2 separate regions of the Homo sapiens genome follow, and region 1 is linked to region 2. Evidence: promoter capture Hi-C in human tissues and cell types (Jung and others, 2019). All regions are on one chromosome and are shown on one strand. Each heading gives the region's core, a stretch centred on a gene start or on the middle of the fragment in contact. The rest is flanking DNA. Distances are from core to core; before and after follow the strand shown.

Evidence for each region. The method cuts DNA at HindIII sites, captures the fragments that hold promoters and counts their contacts. A contact is called where the count stands out against the background at its distance.
Region 1: a contact is called between a fragment that was not itself captured here and the fragment with the promoter of RPUSD2 in region 2, in 1 of the 25 tissues and cell types used here (adrenal gland).

What each region holds. Positions count from the first base shown.
Region 1 is chr15:41,097,519-41,102,223 of GRCh38, forward strand. The region is part of intron 1 of INO80 (INO80 complex ATPase subunit); the gene reads right to left. Among named protein-coding and RNA genes, the nearest start is that of INO80, 16 kb to the right of the region's middle. The HindIII fragment of the contact is 3,775 bases long and covers 1,324-4,705 here.
Region 2 is chr15:40,568,020-40,572,629 of GRCh38, forward strand. It overlaps RPUSD2 (RNA pseudouridine synthase domain containing 2), which reads left to right and starts at 1,280. Exons shown (of 3, transcript NM_152260.3): 1 at 1,280-1,924; 2 at 3,585-3,881. The coding sequence starts at 1,319. RefSeq lists enhancers at 1,222-1,551, 1,613-2,112, 1,862-1,911. The HindIII fragment of the contact is 11,995 bases long and covers 1-4,610 here.

The sequences.
Region 1 (4,705 bases), core at 1,961-4,460, 530 kb after region 2:
CGCTCTTGCAGTAGGGTGATCTCAGCTCACTGCAACCTCTGCCTCACAGGTTCAAGTGATTCTCCTGCCTCAGGCTCCCAAGTAGCTGGGATTACAGGCGTCCACCACCACACCTAGCTAATTTGTTGTATTTTTAGTAGAGATGGGGTTTCACCATGTTGGTCAGGCTGGTCTGGAACTCCTGACCTCAGGTGATCCACCAGTCCCAACCTCCCAAAGTGCTACGATTACAGGCATGAGCCACTGTACCCAGCCTAAAATACAAAAATACTAAAAATACAAAAATTAGCTGGGCATGGTGGCAGGCGTCTGTAATCCCACCTACTCAGGAGACTGAGGCAGGAGAATCACTTGAACCTGGGAGGCAGAAGTTGCAGTGAGCCGAGACTGTGCCACTGCACTCCAGGCTGGGCAACGAGAGCAAAACCCCATCTCAAAAAACAACAACAACAACAACAACTAAATGAAATGATAAGTTTTTTTGTTTATTTGTGGCGGTTTTTTTGTATTTTTAGTAGAGACAGGGTTTCACCGTGTTGGCCAGAATGGTCTTGATCTCCTGACCTTGTGATCCGCCTGTCTCAGCCTCCCAAAGTGCAGGGATTACAGGCGTGAGCCACCACGCCCGGCCAACTAAGTGATAAGCTTTAAAGGCAATCATACATCTTTGAGTTGTCTTCTCTTTTTTTTACAATTTTCTAATATAACTTTCCTATCTAAAACAGTGTAACTTCTAGAAAAACCAGGAGAAAATCTTCATGACTGACCATAAAAAATTCTAGATATGCAATCAAAAGCACAAAAGATCAAAAATTAGCCCATGCGAATTAAAAATGTTTACACTTTAAAATATATCATTAAGAAAATGAAGACAAACTAGGCACAGTGGCTCATGCCTGTAATCCCAGCACTCTGGGAGACTGAAGTGGGAGGATCACTTCAGCCCAGGAAAACAAGATCAACCTGGGCAACACAGTGAGATCTCATCTCTTCAAAAGAATTTAAAATTAGCTGGGCATGGTGGCACAGGCCTCTGGACAAACTATTCGGGAGGCTGAAGTGGGAGGATCACTTACAGCCCAGGAGGTTGAGGCTACAGTGAGCCATGATCTTGCAACTGTACTCCAGCCTGGGTGACAAAAAAAAGAAAAAGAAAATGAAGACAAGCCACAGACTAGAAGATACTTGCAAATCATCTATCTGATAAAGGTCTTGTATCCACATATACAACTTTTTTTTTACACAGTTGTTTGTCAGTGTGTACACATAAAACCTACAACTCTATAAGATAAATAACCCAATTTAAAAATGAGCAAAAGATTTTGAACATTTTACCAACAAAGATGTATGACTAGCTAATAGACACATGAAAAAATGCTAAATATTAATAAATTAAAATTAAAGCACCATACTACTTCATACCCACTAGAATAATAAAAAAGACAGGCTAGACACAGTGGCTCTCACCTATAATCTCAACATTTAGGAGGCTGAAGTGGGTGGATCCCTTGAGCCCAGGAGTTTGAGACCAGCCTGGGCAACATAGCAGGACCGTGTCCCTACAAAAAATTTAAAAATTAGCCAAGTATGGTGATGCGTGCCTGTAGTGCCAGCTACTCAAGAGGCTGAGGTGAGAGGATTGCTTAAGCCCAGGAAGTCAAGGCTGCAGTGAGCTATCATTGTGCCACTGTGCTCCAGCCTGGAGTAAGACCCTGTCTCAAAAAAAAAAAAAAAAAAAAAAAAAAAAAACAAACACACACACACACACACAACAAGAGAGTGAGAGAGAGGGAAAGAAAAAGGGAAAAAAAAAATGTTCCAAACTCCCATTGTGGCGATAGTTCCACAATTCTGTAAATCTACCAAAAATATATTCAAAATATACTGAACTGTATATTTTATTTAAATTATGTGAATTTCATAGTTTGTAAATTGTCAGTCTTGGTAATATAAAGAAAAAAGAATGCTAAAAAATACTTTTGGCCAGGAGCAGTGGCTGAAGCTTGTAATCCCAGCACTTTGGGAGGTGAGGCAGGAGGAGAGCTTGAGCCCAAGAGTTCAAGACCAGCCTGAGTAACATGGCGAGACCTTGTCTCTACAAAAAAATTTAAAAATTAGCTGAGTGTAGTGGCATGCACCTGTAAACCCAGCCACTTGGGAGGCTGAGGAGGGAGGATGGTTTGAGCCCAGGAGGTTGAGACCTCAGTAAGTCATGAACGCACCACTGTACTCCAGCCTGCATAACAGAGTGAGACTATCCAAAAAAAAAAAAACTTTAAATTTCACCTTTTCAAAATGAGACCTAACGTGTACCCACCCACTCCAGAAGATTTCAAAGAAATTGGTTTTTAAAATACAACAAAACTCCCTTAAGAGAACAGCAAATAATTCATCTTGATACATGTATAAATGTAAAACTACTCTGCTTGGCTCCATCCCAAGCTTTTATTACAGAACAATTAATCCATGCTCTAGTTATTTTACCTGATAAGGAAAATGACACTAATTAAGGAGGTATGACTACCAAGTAATACGGAGTGATTCGAAATGAATGGAATATTTTCTTTTCTTTTTTTTTTGAGACAAAGTCTTGTAGCCGAGGCTGGAATGCTGTGGCCCAATCTCGGCTCACTGCAAGCTCTGCCTCCCAGGTTCACGCCATTCTCCTGCCTCAGCCTCCCGAGTAGCTGGGACTACAGGCGCCTGCCACCACGCCAGGCTAACTTTTTGTATTTTTAGTACAGACGGGGTTTCACTGTGTTAGCCAGGATGGTCTCGATCTCCTGACCTCGTGATTCGCCCGCCTCGGCCTCCCAAAGTGCTGGGATTACAGGTGTGAGCCACTGTGCCCGGCCAATGAATGGAATATTTTCAAAACTTATTCCTCAGTACCTATGTGAGTATGAAATCAAAAACAATTTGTTGAAGAAAGATCACAGTTAACTTCTAGTCTTACAATCCTCAATATATGCTCCCTTTTGACACCCAGTATACATCAGTCCTGTCAACTGATTCATCCCAGAAATCATCTTTGCAGCATATCACCACTGATGGCTGAAATGACAGCTGCAATGAATTCCCTTATGTCCACAATACCACCAAAAAAAGGTGCTGTAAGCACAAAATTCTCCACAAGAAGTCCTATGATGACATCTGGAGAACCAAGTTATATTTTTTAAGTGTTCAATTTTTTTCTTTATGGTGGCAAAAGACATAAAACTTACCATTTTAACCATTTTTAAGTGTACACTTCAGTGGCATTATATACATTCACATTGTTGTGCAACCATTACTACCATTCACAATTTTTTCTTTTTTTTTTTTTTTTGAGACAGAGGCTCCCTCTGTCGCCCAGGCTGGAGCACAATGGGGTGATCTCCGCTCACTACAATCTCCGCCTCCTGGGTTCAAGTGATTCTCTCACCTCCAGCCTCCCAAGTAGCTGGGACTACAGGCGCACCCCACCACACACAGCTAATTTTTGTATTTTTAGTAGAGATGGAGTTTTACCATGTTGGCCAGGCTGGTCTCAAACGCCTGGCATCAAGTGATCCACCCACCTCAGCCTCCCAAAGTAGTGGGATTATAGGCATGAGCCACCCACCCGGCTGACAATCATTTCTTAATCACCTTTTAAGATTGCTGGCCTCTCAATTCAGCCTAGTCTTGATTAGCATGTTAAAAGCTGCTGCTGCAATAACCACTTTCATCTCCTCATTTGTCTCTTATTCCCTACAAGGAAACTGCATGGCCATCAACCTGACCCATCTGTTATCGTCCAACTTCAGCAAAACACTTGATAATTCTCAATAACCCTTTTACCCACCTTCTACCAATTGTTTCTCATTCTCTACCAAGATTACTTCAAATCTTTTTTCCCTCTTCCTCAAAATGCTGAAGTCATTCCCCGCTCATCTTGGAAGAGCCTGAAGAGCAAATCATTCCATCCTCTTTTATTTCACCTTAGCTCAATAGTTTCCTCTTACTTGCTGTGATATTTGAGTCACCAACACAAACAGACTTTATTTGTAACTTTTTTTTTTTTTTTTGAGACAGAGTCTTGCTCTGTCACCCAGGCTGGAGTGCAGTGGCGAGATCTCTGCTCACTGCAAGCTCCGCCTCCCAGGTTCAAGCCATTCTCCTGCCTCAGCCTCCCGAGTAGCTGGGACTGCAGGCGCCCGCCACAACGCCTGGCTAAGTTTTTTTGTATTTTAGTAGAGACGGGGTTTCACTGTGTTAGCCAGGATGATCTCGATCTCCTGACCTCGTGATCCACCCACCTCGGCCTCCCAAAGTGCTGGGATTACAGGCGTGAGCCACCGCACCCGGCCTATTTGTAACTCTTAGTCAAGGTGATTCTCCATACTAGTACAAAAGATATGACTATTTCTTGGCGGGCATGGTGGCTCATGCCTGTAATCCCAGCACTTTGGGAGGCTGAGACGAGCAGATTACAAGGTCAGGAATTCGAGACCAACCTGGCTAACACAGTGAAATCCCGCCTTTACTAAAAATACAAAAAAGTAGCTGGGCTTGGTGGCACGCACCTGTAGTCCCAGCTACTCAGGAGGCTGAGGCAGGAGAATCGCTTGAACCTGGGAGGTGGAGGTTGCAGTGAGCCAAGACTGTGCCACTGAACTCCAGCCTGGGCAACAAAGCAAGACTCCATCTCAAAAAAAGAAGATACGACTATGTCTTATGTCAC
Region 2 (4,610 bases), core at 30-2,529:
ACTAACATTGAAATGCCTCCTTATTTGGAAGAATCCCACTCTGGATACCAAAGAGGGTTAGATTCTTGGCCGGGCGCGGTGGCTTACGCCTGTAATCCCAGCACTCATAATATAAAAATTAGCCAGGCGTGGTGGTGCGTGCCTGTAGTCCCAGCCACTCAGGAGGCTGAGGCAGAAGAATGGCTTGAACTCAGGAGGCGGAGGTTGCAGTGAGGTGAAATCGCTCCACTGCACTCCAGCCTGGGCGACAGAGCAAGACTCCGTCTCAAAAAAAAAAAAAAAAAAAAAAAAAAAGAGGGTTAAATTCTTCCATCTCCAGGCACCCTGGAAGTGAGGGCTCAGAGCAATGAGGTTTGGCTGATGGAAGTCCTCCCCTGCAGGACTCTTAACCTTGGAAGAGGGACACAGAGACACAGGGAGATTTAGGGGTCTCCAAGGGGTGGCAGGGCTGCAGGAAAAAGAGTCCTTTGGCACAACATAGTTTCTTGTGTCTACTGCATCCCAACTGGGTTTCTTCCCTGACATGTCTGAAGCCAGGCTCTCAAAAGGCTTGGTTTCCCTTGATTTGGCCCTTTTTCTGAGCCTAGTCTCCAGTTGTCTTGTGAATTCTATGAGGCACTAATATACTTTCCATAATTCTATCTCTGATGAAATTAGCCAGAGTTGGTTTATTTTGCACTTAAGAACCCTCGCCATATATCCTCTGATCTATTTGCAGTTTTAATCTCAGGATGGAAGCATGTGGGAGGCGAATGGGGATCACTAATCCTTCTCATGCTGTTAGGGGGAAACACAGGTGTGAACACATTGCTTCTGGGGTGCTTGTGTGTGTTTTAAATACATATATAACAATCTTACTGAGATACAAGTCACATACTATAATATTGACCCTTTTAAAATATAGAATACAGTGGGTTTTAGTATATTCGCAGAGTTTAGCAATCTTTATTCTGGTTGTTAGTTTTTGTTTTGTCTTAAATAAAGCTCCTTTCAAGCGTTTCTTCAGACCCAAGGGACTACTCGGAATTTACACGACCTACTCCTGTCATGGCCTTTACACGGAGCAATTCCAAGGGTTTCCTTTATAAATAACGTCGTATCTCCCTAATAGGAAGACGTCTGAGTAAGGTCACTTTTGGTGAGACATTTACAGTCTCTCATCTCTAAGCTCACTCAATTCACCTAATTTAATTCGAGCAGCTCACTCATTCGCTCACTTATCGCAGACCCCGCCTCGGGACTGGGCCTCCCTGATTCGCTGGGGCCGAGTGACGTCCTCAGATCGCGACCCTGGGAGTGGAGTGGGGGCAGCGTGGTTATGTGGCTGGACCGCCGCGGATGGCTCAGGGTTCTTGGACATTGGCGCTACGACCTTAGGCGCCCTAGCTTTACCAGGACTTGGAGTGGCGATAAGGGCCCAATGGCAGAAACAGTGTCTACCCAGGTTGGGACAGAGGGCGGGCTGAGGGCTTCGCATCAGCAAAACGGTGACGCTGGTGGCGACGCGAAGGTTGAGCTGTCCCCCGGGCCCCCGAAGCCGGCTGGCCGGGAAGTGGAGCCGGCCCCAGTAGGCGGGGAGCATCCCTCGGCTGCAGCCCCAGGCCCGGGCAAGCATAAGAAGCGGCGGGGCGCAACCAGGGAGCGTGTCGTGCCGCCCCCGAAGAAGCGGCGGACCGGGGTGAGCTTCGGAGATGAGCACTTTGCAGAAACCAGTTATTACTTCGAGGGCGGCCTGCGTAAGGTGCGGCCCTATTACTTTGACTTCCGGACCTACTGCAAAGGTCGCTGGGTGGGCCACAGCTTGCTGCACGTCTTCAGTACCGAGTTCCGAGCTCAGCCCCTGGCCTACTATGAGGCCGCGGTCCGGGCGGGCCGCCTGCAACTCAACGAGAAGCCGGTGCAGGACCTCAACATCGTGCTCAAGGTGGAGTCCTGATGGGGCTGGCCAGAAGCGGGCGAGGAAAAGGGGCCGGGTTTTGTTTTGTTTTGTTTTGTTTTTTAGTCTTAGTAAAGCATAGGTACTGGATTAAAATCATGGCAATTCTAAAGCGTTCTCGCTTTCATTTGGAACACTATTTTAGCCCGTTTCCCACCTCCGCAAGTGGCCAGGGTGTCTGTGCTTCAGGACTCAGCCTGTTTATCCTCTTCCTCAAGGCAGCTTCCTTGTTTCCAAGGGACAGAAGTTGGAATTTTCATAATTCCTTTAAACACCGTCTTGTGGCAAGGGCACTGATCACTTTACCCTGCGTTGTAGATCTCTGTGCAAATAGTAATAATAGGGGCTATCATTTATGTCTCTTTACTGTGTGCTGGGCACAAAGTTAAACATTGTATGTCCACTAATTCTAATGACAGCCTTGTGAAGTAGGTATTGCCACTCCATTTTACCTCTGAGGAAACTAAGGAAACTCACAGGGGTAAGGCTATCAACAGTGCCACTACCAAAGCCTATGTTCCTATAACTACTACTTAAACTATTTAACATAGAGTTATGAGATGTCAGGGATAGAGACTAGAATTGTTTAGCCCAGTGCTTTGACTCCTTTAAAATTCCATCACATCTATGAGGTACCAGACACCCCTGTCAGAAGTAACACTGTTTACCTCTCAGTAACACTAGTTTACCATGGTTGTGAGTGGAGAAAAGGCGATTACAGCATTTGGGGAATGGATGGTTTTGGAGTAACTTGTTCCATTGATCAATCGATTTGCGTCAATATATCATACATTGACGAATTCCCTCTCCTATCCCAATTTCTAAAGCACAGATCTGGTCTAACCCTCACATTCCACAGGAAGCAGAGACCCAGAAAAGATAAATGACTTGCCCAAGAGCATGTAGCGAGCCTGTGGCAAATCCTGGTCTAGAGCCCATATCCCTGGACTTAAGCCTTAGTTTTGTTTGTTCAAGATCGTAATAAGTGATGATTTATGGAGGTTTTTTCCTCCATTAAAAAAATTTTACCTTGATTATTTATTTTTTTTTTTTTTGAGACAGAGTCTTGCTCTGTTGCCCAGGCTGGCGTGTAGTGGCGCGATCTCGGCTCACTGCAACCTCCGCCTCCCAGGTTCAAGCGATTCTCCTGCCTCAGTCTCCCAAGTAGCTGGGATTACAGGCATGTGCCACCACGCCTGCTAATTTTTGTATTTTTAGTAGAGACAGAGTTTGACCATGTTAGCCAGGATGGTCTTGATCTCGTGATCCACCCACCTCAGCCTCCCAAAGTGCTGGGATTAGAGGCGTGAGCCACTGCGCCCGGCTAAAAAATTTTACCTTTTAAATACCTTTATTGTAGAGAAAATACAATTAGCAAAGCCAAAAAACATTCATAATCTAACCACCCAGAGATAACACAGTTAACATTTTTGCATATGTCCTTCCAGTACTTTTTCAGTGCCAGCTATCTGCCTGTGTCTGTCTGTATTTTTACAAAATGAGATCACACTCTGCACACTGCTTTTTCAGCCCAAGATGTGCTTTCACCATTTTTCCATGTCAGTGAGGAACAGGGGAAGCTGGATATGAAGTTGACTGATTACAGGCTGCGGTCCCTAGGCTGACTTATTACCTATGTCTTTGACAGGACAATGATTTCTTGCGGAACACAGTGCACAGGCATGAGCCACCAGTCACAGCAGAGCCCATTCGCCTGCTAGCTGAGAACGAAGATGTGGTGGTTGTAGACAAGCCTTCCTCCATTCCCGTTCACCCCTGTGGCCGCTTCCGACACAACACAGTTATCTTCATCCTAGGCAAGGAGCACCAACTCAAGGAGCTACACCCCTTGCATCGGCTTGACCGCCTTACCTCAGGGGTGCTTATGTTTGCCAAGACAGCTGCAGTCTCTGAGAGAATTCACGAGCAGGTTCGGGACCGGCAGGTGAGTCAGGCTTTTGTCTCCTACAGGCCACTTCTTGGGCTCACGAATGCTCTGTGTCAAAAGGGCATCATGGAGTTCCGAAGTGGTCCTTCATATTTATCTGGCCATCCTTCCTACCTTCCTACCTTAAGGCAGGTCAACACCTAAAGTGCCAAATGCAGGATATCTCATATGTTTCCAAAAAAATCTTTAGAGATGGCATACACTGCCTCTCTTAGTAGTTTGCTATTTTGAAGCTTTAAAATGCTGACAAGGCCAGGCTCACACCTGTAATCCCAGCATTTTGGGAGGCTGAGGTGGGAGGATAGCTTGAGCCCAGGAGGTAGAGACCAGCCTGGGCAAAATAGGGAGACCCTATCTCTACAAAAAAAAAAAAAAAAGGCCAGGCGCAGTGGCTCACGCCTGTAATCCCAACACTTTGGGAGGCCGAGGCGGGCAGATCACGAGGTCAGGAGATCGAGGTCATCCTGGCTAACACGGTGAAACCCCGTCTCTACTAAAAAAAAATACAAAAAATTAGCTGGGCGTGGTGGCGGGCACCTATAGTCCCAGCTACTCGGGAGGCTGAGGCAGGAGAATGGTGTGAACCCAAGAGGTGGAGCTTGCAGTGAGCCGAATCGCGCCACCGCACTCCAGCCTGGGTGACAGAGTGAGACTCTGTCTCAAAAAAAAAAAAAAAAACTTACCCTGGCATGGTGGCACATGCCTGTAGTCCCAGCTACTTGGGAG